Regions from separate parts of the Homo sapiens genome. Here regions 1 and 2 are each linked to region 3. Evidence: promoter capture Hi-C in human tissues and cell types (Jung and others, 2019). All regions are on one chromosome and are shown on one strand. Each heading gives the region's core, a stretch centred on a gene start or on the middle of the fragment in contact. The rest is flanking DNA. Distances are from core to core; before and after follow the strand shown. Region 1 overlaps BCL2L13 (BCL2 like 13). Region 2 holds the start of BCL2L13 (BCL2 like 13). Region 3 holds the start of TUBA8 (tubulin alpha 8).

What was found. The method cuts DNA at HindIII sites, captures the fragments that hold promoters and counts their contacts. A contact is called where the count stands out against the background at its distance.
Region 1: a contact is called between a fragment that was not itself captured here and the fragment with the promoter of TUBA8 in region 3, in 1 of the 25 tissues and cell types used here (dorsolateral prefrontal cortex).
Region 2: a fragment that was not itself captured here is called in contact with the fragment with the promoter of TUBA8 in region 3 in 1 of the 25 tissues and cell types used here (dorsolateral prefrontal cortex).

What each region holds. Positions count from the first base shown.
Region 1 is chr22:17,708,649-17,711,687 of GRCh38, forward strand. The region is part of intron 6 of BCL2L13 (BCL2 like 13); the gene reads left to right. Among named protein-coding and RNA genes, the nearest start is that of MIR3198-1, 54 kb to the right of the region's middle. The HindIII fragment of the contact is 6,813 bases long and covers 1-3,039 here.
Region 2 is chr22:17,638,721-17,641,941 of GRCh38, forward strand. It overlaps BCL2L13 (BCL2 like 13), which reads left to right and starts at 37. Exons shown (of 7, transcript NM_015367.4): 1 at 37-166. It also overlaps the pseudogene LOC124905160. RefSeq lists enhancers at 1-46, 1-278, 47-919. The HindIII fragment of the contact is 6,703 bases long and covers 1-3,221 here.
Region 3 is chr22:18,109,395-18,112,726 of GRCh38, forward strand. TUBA8 (tubulin alpha 8) reads left to right here and starts at 1,415. Exons shown (of 5, transcript NM_018943.3): 1 at 1,415-1,474. The coding sequence starts at 1,472. RefSeq lists an enhancer at 912-1,111 and a silencer at 1,192-1,581. The HindIII fragment of the contact is 17,974 bases long and covers 1-3,332 here.

The sequences.
Region 1 (3,039 bases), core at 532-3,031, 400 kb before region 3:
AGACGCAGTTCTCTGCTTCTTTGTGCATATTTAAACTCATGGTTTATCCCATGAGTTTTATATTTTTGAGCCCTCGAAATTACTCCTTTGCATTTTATGTCAGTGAAGCCAAAGAGACAGATACTCTCAACAACACAAATATTTTGTATTAAAAACTATTTAGATTGTTAGAATGGTTCCGAGGCTACTTGTAGATATTATTCTTCTAATATGATAAGTTGTAAGTAATATATTATCCAAAACAGCTCTTTTTCTTTTAGTGAAAGCCTGCTCTTCATTATGACATTAATTATTAAGAGAGGCTCGGCCGAGCATGGTGGCTAACGCCTGTAATACCAGCACTTTGGGAGGCCGAGGTGGGTGACTCACAAGGTCAGGAGATCGAGACCATCCTGACTAACACGGTGAAACCCCGTCTCTACTAAAAAATACAAAAAATTAGCTGGGCGTGGTGGCAGGCACCTGTAGTCCCAGCTACTCGGGAGGCTGAGGCAGGAGAATGGCGTGAACCCAGGAGGCAGAGGTTGCAGTGAGCCAAGACTGCGCCACTGCACTCCAGCCTGGGCGACAGAGTGAGACTCCATCTCAAAAACAAAACAAAACAAAAAAAAGAGGCTCCAGCCCGGTGACATGGCAAAACCCTGTCTCAAAAATATAAAACTGAGGCTGGACGTGGTGGCTCACGCCTGTAATCCCAACACTTTGGGAGGCCAAGGTGGGCAGATCACCTGAAGTCCGGAGTTCGAGACCAGCCTGGCCAACGTGGTGAAACCCCATCTCTATGAAAAATACAAAAATTAGCCAGGCATGGTCGTGCATGCCTGTAGTCCCAGCAACTCGGGAGGCTGAGGCAGGAGAATTGCTTGAACCCAGGAGGCGGAGGTTGCAGTGAACCAGGATTGTGCCTCTGCGCTCCAACCTGGGTGAACAGAGAGAGACTCTGTCTCAGGAAAGATAAATAAATAAATGAAATAAAAAATAGAAAGATTAGCCAGGCATGGTGGTGGGTTCCTGTAATCCCAACTACTCAGGTGGCTGAGGCAGGAGAATCTCTTGAACCCAGGTTGCAGAACCCAGGAGCTGAGATTGTGCTGCTGCACTCCAGCCTAGGCAACAGAGTGCTATTAAAACAAAAGAAAACATTGACCGGGTGCAGTGGCTCACTCCTGTAATCCCAGCACTTTGGGAGGCCGAGGCAGGCAGATTGCCCAAGTCCAGGAGCTCAAGACCAGCCTGGGCAACATGGTGAGTGAGAGCCCATCTCTACAAAAAATATAAAAATTAACTGGAAGTAATCTGTGGTCCCATTTACTCAGGAGGCTGAGGCAGGAGGATCACTTGAGCCTGGGAGGTCAAGGCTGCAGTAAGCCAAGATTGCGCCACTGACCTCCAGCCTGGGTAACAGTAAGACCTTGTCTTAAAAAAAAAAAAAAAAAAAAAAAAAGAGGCTGCTATTTTTATATTTTTGTTTTATGTGAATTGGTCCCCAGGAGTAAAAGCTTAGTAATCTGTTCTTTCTTGTAAGACTTCTTACATAACAGCACAGAATGTTCAGTGAATCTTCATTAAAATGTCACGTCCTAAATACAGAAATACATTGTAAGGTAGGGAGGCCATGACAGCAAGACATAAAGCTATTTAATCTGAATTGGCCGGGTGCAGTGGCTCACACCTGTAATCCCAGCACTTCGGGAGGCCGAGGCAGGCAGATCATTTGAGGTCAGGACTTTGAGACCAGCAACATGGTGAATCCCTGTCTCTACTAAAAATTAAAAAAAAAAATTCTCCGGGCATGGTGGCGCACACCTGTAATCTTAGCTGCTCCGGAGGCTGAGGCAGGGGAATCGCTTGAACTTGGGAGGCGGAGGTTGCGGTGAGCTGAGATCACGCCACTGCACTCCAGCCTGGGTGACAGAGCAAGACTCTGTCTCAAAAAAAAGTAAATAAAAATAAAAAATAAATAAATGCCTGTAATCCCAGCACTTTGGGAGGCCGAGGTGGGCAGATCACGAGGTCAGGAGATCGAGACCATCCTGGCTAACACGGTGAAACCCCGTCTCTACTAAAAATACAAAAAAATTAGCCGGGCGTGGTGGTGGGCACCCATAGTTCCAGCTACTCGGGAGGCTGAGGCAGGAGAATGGTATGAATCCAAGAGGCGGAGCTTGCAGTGAGTCAAGATCGAGCCACTGCACTCTAGGCTGGGCGACAGAGCGAGACTCCGTCTCAAAAAAAATAAAAATAAAAAAAAATAAATAAATAAATCTGAATTGGCTTTTAAACAATATATTACGCCAAAGTTGTGATCAGACAAACTTGATCTAATGTCTTAGATGAGATGAAAAGATCCTCTAGATGTGGAACAAAGAACGTTCTTCAATCTTTTGTTAACTTTGAGCTGTTAAAAATAAGGGGAAAAGCCAGGCGTGGTGGTGCGGTGGCTCATGCCTGTAATCCCAGCAACTCAAGAGGCTGAGGTGGGAGGATCTATTGAGCCCAGGATTTTCAGGCTGTAGTGAGTTACGATTATGCCACTGCACTGTAGCCCCTGGGTGACAGAGTGAGACCCTCATTAAAAAATAATCATAAGAGGAAGAGACATTTTACTTTTAATTTTCAGTTTGTTGACTTTTCCCTTATTTCTTCATGATGGGCCTTTTTTTTTTTGAGACAGGGTTTCACTCTGTTGGCCAGGCTGGAGCGCAGTGGCACAATCTCGGCTCACTGCATCCTTTACCTCCTGGGCTCAAACGATCCTCCCACCTCAGCCTCTTGAGTAGCTGGGACCACAGGCATGCACCACCACACTCAACTAATTTTTGTATGTTTTTGTAGAGGTGCAATTTTGCCATGCTGCCCAGGCTGGTCACAAAATCCTGGGCTCAAGTGATTGCCTGCCTCTGCCTCCCAGAGTGCTAAGGTTACAGGCGTGAGCCACCACACCCAGCCATGATGGTACTTTTGAAATTTCCATTTTACTTACTTGGCTTAGAGCCCTAAAGGTCTGTTTACTGAGAACTAAAATTCTTAGTGTTTTCG
Region 2 (3,221 bases), core at 634-3,133, 470 kb before region 3:
ACGCCGGCCGTGACGAAGGCACGCCGGGGTGACCTCACCCTCCAACATGGCGGCGGCGGTAGATTAGGGCCGCGGGTCGGAGCACTCACCGCCGCTGGGGGACCCTGTCGGAAGCAACTGCCGCCGCCGCCTCTTTCATCTCTTCTGGGGCAGGGGCCAGGGCCAGGTGAGGGGAGTGGGGTTCCGGGAAGGCTGAGCTGGGTGAGGAGGTGGTTTTCACCTGGGTAGGAAAGTGCCCAGAGACCGTATCGAGCCACCGACTCCCCAGTGGTTCCGACGACGCGTGAGTTTGAGTGTGTGTGTCTACACCGGCGCTCCTTCGCCCGAAGGTGCTCGGAGCTTAGGGGTCCGCTTCACCGTGACCGGACCTGGCCGCGCGGCCCCGCCGCTGAGCAGGCTTCTTCCGGCGTGGGGTGCCGGAGGCGGAGGAGCTCGGCCCTGGCTCCACGCCGCTGTCCTTCCCCACAGACAGCTTCACGTGGAAAACCCGGGTCCATTTTTAGGGCTAAACTGGGGAACGGCGACTTCTTTTTGGTTGAGGGAAAGGTTTTCCTGCGATTCACTTAGAACACTGGAAGATTAGCTTTGCCAGTCTTAGTCGTTTCTTCTCAGAGATTGTTAGAAGTCTTGTTTCTTAACCTTAATTCACTGCTGTTCTGACACCTATTTTTTCAGAAAAAAACTGCCTTCTTGCCCTTGGAGGCAGTACAGTTCACACGGAGTCATTTTCCCCCTTTGATTTATCCTCCCAACATTCTGTAAAGATCCTATTTCTTGCCTTCATAACCGACTTTCTGAGTGGAGGCTCTAACCTAGCGTTGAAAATCGGACGGATCTGGCCAGTTGTTCACATGCTGTTGACTGCTGGCTTTGGTTAGCTCTTAGCCACTCCCTGCACAAGTGTTTGTTTATTCAAAATAGCTATCTCACTGTCTCTGTTTAGAAGTTTGAACTAAGCTGAGAGCCCTCCCTCCTTACTTTTATTTTTTTGTTGTTGTTGCGTAAAACAAAACAAAAACTTCTTTGGCGAAATTATAAGATTTCCTCTGGAGGTTTAGTATAAAGCAGAATGTTGCTCTCTGCCCTGACTAGTGTGACCTTGGATGAGTTGCCACACCCTTCAGATACCTTCTTTCTTTTTTTTTTTTTTTGAGACAGAGTTTCCCTCTTGTTGCCTAGGCTGGAGTGCAATGGCGCGATCTCAGCTTACCGCAACCTCCGCCTCCTGGGTTCAAGCCATTCTCCTGCCTCAGCCTCCCGAGTAGCTGGGATTACAGGCATGCGCCACCACGCGGGGCTAATTTTGTATTTTTAGTAGAGACGGGGTTTCATCATGTTGGTCAGGATGGTCTCGAACTCCCAATCTCTGGTCATCCCCCCGCCTCAGCCTCCCAAAGTGTTGGGATTACAGGCGTGAGCCACCGCGCACGGTGATACCTTTTTTTCAACCACCCCCGCGCCACCGCATGAAGTATTATTTTCATTTTTAACACCCTCTCTCCCCCAAGTGAAGTATTCTTCATTTGGTAATAGGCAGTTAAGGGTATTGAAAATCTTTTTACTAGGAATGGTCAGGTACTGTTCTGTATTTTTTTTCCAATGGCTCATTTTTTATGTGGAAGAGTATATTCAGTAGTTGGATTCACTTTTTATTTTATTTTTAGTTGTCTCCTACAGCAAGGACCAGTAGTTGAATTCAATTGAAAGATGCCTAAGGCTATATCTAACCAGTCTTGTAAAAAAACAGACTTGTGTTTACTAGCACATAATCTAATCAACATGTATTAAATATCACACACATTAAGCTTTTAGGACAAGTGGTTTGCAACAGTAATAATCATTAACAACATTTCATTTGGCTGTTTGCGATGGCTCACTGTAATCCCAGCACTTTGGGAGGCTCAGGCAGGAGCATTGCTTGAGCCCGGGAGTTCGAGACCAGCCTGGGCAACATAAGGAGACCTTGTCTTCACAAAAAATTAAAAAAAAAAAAAATTAGCCAGGCATAGGTCCCAGCTACTTGGAAGACTGAGGCGAGAGGGAGGACTGCTTGAGCCCGGGAGATCAAGGCTGCTGTGAGCTGTGATTGCTCCACTGTACTTCAGTCTGGATGACAGAGACCCTGACTCAAAAAATATATATATGTTTGTTTATTAATTTTTTATATATATATATATATTTTTTTTTTGAGGCGGAGTGTCGCTCTGTCGCCCAGGCTGGAGTGCAATGACACGATCTCGGCTCACTGCAAGCTCTGCCTCCTGAGTTCACACCATTCTCCTGCCTCAGCCTCCCGAGTAGCTGGGACTACAGGTGCCCGCCACCGCGACAGGCTAATTTTTTGTATTTTTAGTAGAGACGGGGTTTCACCGTGTTAGCCAGGATGGTCTCGATCTCCTGACCTCGCGATCTGCCCGCCTCGGCCTCCCAAAGTGCTGGGATTACAGGCATGAGCCACTGCGCCCGGCCTAAATAGATATGTATTTTATTGTGAAATACTTCAGGCATACAAAACACAAGTGTTAAACATTCACTTAGTTCCAGTCTGCATTTATCATTTTTTAGACAGGATTTTGATTTGTATCTTATTCCAAATAAATGTTCACCAAGAGTTCTTGTTTAATATATATACAAAGTGGGGGTGGGTGGTATTTTCAGATTGGTTTATTTTTTTTTCTTGTTCTTCCTCAGACGGTAATGTGCCAATAAGCCCATGAGGCAACATGATTTGAGGGAGGCACATGTCATGCATTAGCATGAAACCCAGTCATCTTGGTTCTTTATGAACCGCAAAAGGATTGGAGTAGCTGATTTTTTTTAACAACTTTATTGACATATAATTAACGTACCATACAACTCACCATTGTACAATTCAGTACTTTTTAGTATATTCACAGAGTTGTGCACCCACCACCACAATCATTTTCATCACCTCAAAAAGAGACTCCCATACCCATTAGCAGTCATTCTTTATTACTGGTCCTCCTACCCCCACCCTTGGGCAACCACTGATCTACTTTCTGTCTATGGATTTGCCTATTCTGGAGATTTCACAAAAATGGGATCACATAATATGTGTTTTTTTTTTTTTTTTTTTGAGAATGAGTCTCACTCTGTCGCCCAGGCTGGAGTGCAGTGGTGCCATCTCGACTCACTGCAAGCTCCGCCTCCCGGGTTGACGCCATTCTCTTGCCTCAGCCTCCTGAGTAGCTGGGACTACA
Region 3 (3,332 bases), core at 165-2,664:
AACCAAAATCCTTTATTGACCATTTATCATGTGCTTGGCACAATTAGCTTAATCCTGAGTCTTAATTGTCAGGATCTTACATTATAAGATAGACAAAAATTCAACGCATGCTTTACTAAGTACCGTTTGTATCAGTGGGTAAAGCACTGTGTTTGGTACTCTCTCAAATGCAAAGATGATTACGACACATGTACTATCGTTTATGAATGGGTGGCCAACAGAACAGATTGCCGCATAGGTAAGCAGAAATCTGCTCTCATTCTCTATTGGCCACAAGCAGGCATGTCTTAGGAGCAGAAGGGTAGGAAGATCTCTAACTGTGCTTGGAAACTTGGGGAGTTACCACGTCTGGCTAAAGTGGTATTGTCTTAAGGAAAACCTATGAATTTGCCTGCGTTGGCTTGGTGCTGAGGAAAGTGGAAGAGAGAGGCTGGGGTACACCTTTCAACATGAATGGAACTGACCACTGGAGGGAAAGAACAAGAAACAGCAGTGAGAACAAGGAACAAAGACCATCCAGCCCCTCACCCACCTGGGGGGAAGTGAGGGGAGATGGGCAGGGTGACAACGTGGCCAACATCTAAAGTGTGAAGAGGGGCTTTTACCAAGTGCCCACCCCTTCCCGAGCAGGGGGCAACCAACAGCATCTGGCGGGTCTTACTACTGGGCAGAGGCAGGGGAACCCTGGTATGAGTTCTGGATTACATAGGAGATGTGACTTGGACACGTTTGGGGCTTAAAAGTAGGAAGGGATCAAGGGGGGAGATTTGAAAATCCCGGTGGAGGTGCGAGGTATCCGGGGAGAGGGTAAAAACGGGAACAGTCTTCAGCACCTGCCTGTACCAGGAGCTCTGTGTATGCCATCTCATTTCCGTCTCCAGCAACCAGGCGGGCCTTGGCGGCAGGAGGCACAGGCTTTGGGAGCAGAGGCCCTGCAGCTTGCCAAGCACACACGGCCCTAGGGCGCCCAGCTGAGACGGCACCTTGGCACCCGGGCCCGCTGCAGCCCGCTCCGGTCAGCTGCACCCCAGTCAGGAGCCTTTCCAGCGGGTCGGAGGAGAACGGAAGTTTGGGGAGACCCGCGCGATTCGCCTGGCTGCATTTTACATTTCTTTCTCCGGCAGCTGGGGTCACGAAGGCTGCTCTCGCCGGCGGTGTTGGAACGTGGACACGTGCGCTTTGGTAATAGGGCAGCCTCCCCCGCGGGCGCAGTCCCCGCTGCGAGCGCCCCCGGCTGCTGAGGCGGGACCGAGGACCCGGAGATTTGAGCCGCGGGTGGGCGGGGAGGGGCCTTTGTGACCTGCCCGCCCCTCCCCGGCACTGTGATGCCGGGGGGCAGCTGCGGGCCCGGCGCGCCTGTCCCCGGCGTCCCCCCCTCCCGGTGTGTCACAACGGCGGAGGCGGCTGTATCTGGAGCAGTCGGGGCGGGCAGGCCCAGCTGAGAGGTGCGCGGGCGAGGACAGCGGCAGCGATGGTGAGGCTTCCCGGGGCCAGGCGGGCTGCGGGCGCGCGGCAGGCGTAGGACCGAGAGCCGAGTCTACGCGGAGGCGCACGGACCCGTCTTCCTGGAGCCGCAGGGCTCAAGGCCTTCTGGGGGTGGCAGTTCAGGGTCGAGGAGTCCGCACCCTCGGGCGGGAACACCCGGTGCCCTTTATCGTATGGGGGAAATAGAGACCAGGGGCCAGTTGTTCCTTAAAGGGACCTAAGGGAGCTTTGCGTGCAGACGAGGGGGAGGGAGGCCCTGGGGAGCCCGACGGAGAAGGGGGCGAGATTCTGGGGTCCCCAGATGGGCAGCCTGTGGACAGAGTGGAGAGAAGGGCGAGTCCGGGGATTCTGGATGGGTGGTCTGGGCCGGGGCGACTGGGGGGCCAGATGCAGTCACGTCTCCGAACCCAGCCTAATGTGACAGGGCCCGGAATGTGACAGAGGACCTAGGGCGCCACGGTCCCCCCACGCGTGGAGGTCTTTCTCGCAAGCCTGGCCAGCGGCTTGGGTTTGCTGCACGCACAGCCCCAGCGCGGCGGGGTCCTCCGGGCGCACTCAGCAGCTCCCAAGTCTTTCCAGCGGTCAGAGTCGAAGGACTTTGGGAGTAAGAAGTCTCTGCTTCCAAAGGCCAGGGGACCTTCGACCTGTTTCCTACCCTGGCTTAGGGGGATCGCGGCTGCTCCCTTCCCTGCCCCCGCCCCTGGATCTTACTGAGGGGCGGCTGCAAACACTCAGTTCCTCTTTCTAGGGTCCCCCTCTCCGCCCCCAGTGCCCCTGGTGGTTAACATTTGCCCCCAGTCCACTTTCCCAAAGCCCAGAATCCCAGGAATCCCTCCTGGACCCCTGATCTTTCAGCAGTAGGGAGATGGGCTGGAAAGATTGGGGGCAGAGTGAGGGCAGAATAAGCCTATGTCATGGCCAAGGTCGGGTTCCCTGGGCAGGCTTGCTCCAGGTGTCAGTGATCCAGAAAGCAGGCGAGAACCCCCTCCGCCCCGCCCTGTTACGTTTGGCCCGTGCCCAGGGCCTCCTGGCTCCCCCGGAGCTCTAGCCTTCCAGCTTCAGTTTTGTCAGCACCCTCCCTCCTCCTAGCGGGCTCCCAGACACCCCTGGGAACTGAAAGAACTTGGGAATATTAGGGAGGGTGGCCACAGGAACCTATTTCTGCCTGAGGACCCTGGTATGAGGCCACACAAAGGGCCCGGAGCTGCCAGTTCAGAATTTTGACTCCTGGCTCTGCAGCTAGCTGTGTGACTTCAGGAAGGTCACTTAACCTCTCTGGATGTGTTTGTTTTACCTGCGAAATGAAGAGGGTTATAATTCAAATTTCCAAGACTCCACTTAGATTTCATTATTTTTAAACTTTTTATGGTAGGGAATTTCAAACATATGCAAACGGAGAGCAAATGGTATAATTAGCGATTATATACATCATCTAAGTTCAATAATTACCAACTTCTGACCTGTCTCACTTCATTTATTCCCTCCCTCCATAATTTTGAAGCAAATGCTAGGCTGCATACTCTAGAATTGATATTTAATATTTATAATATCTAGCAGGTAGCTAGTGTTTTAGGATTTTCCAAGTGCTTCCCTTGCATGCTTTAATTTGGATCTGAATGCCATTGTGGTACAGAGTGGAGCCCAGAGGATGTTTACAGGGGCGTGTCGAGGATCTTAACCCAGCCCTGTGCACAAGCTTGAATGTGTGATCCACAGACGTGTTTCTGACAATGCCTGGTAAATCAACAATTCAAACAGCAAAACTTTATTTTGAACGTGCTTAAGAATTTGGGTGTTTAGCTGAAAACCTATGGTTAAATATTTTGAAATGCGACCACCTTTCATTT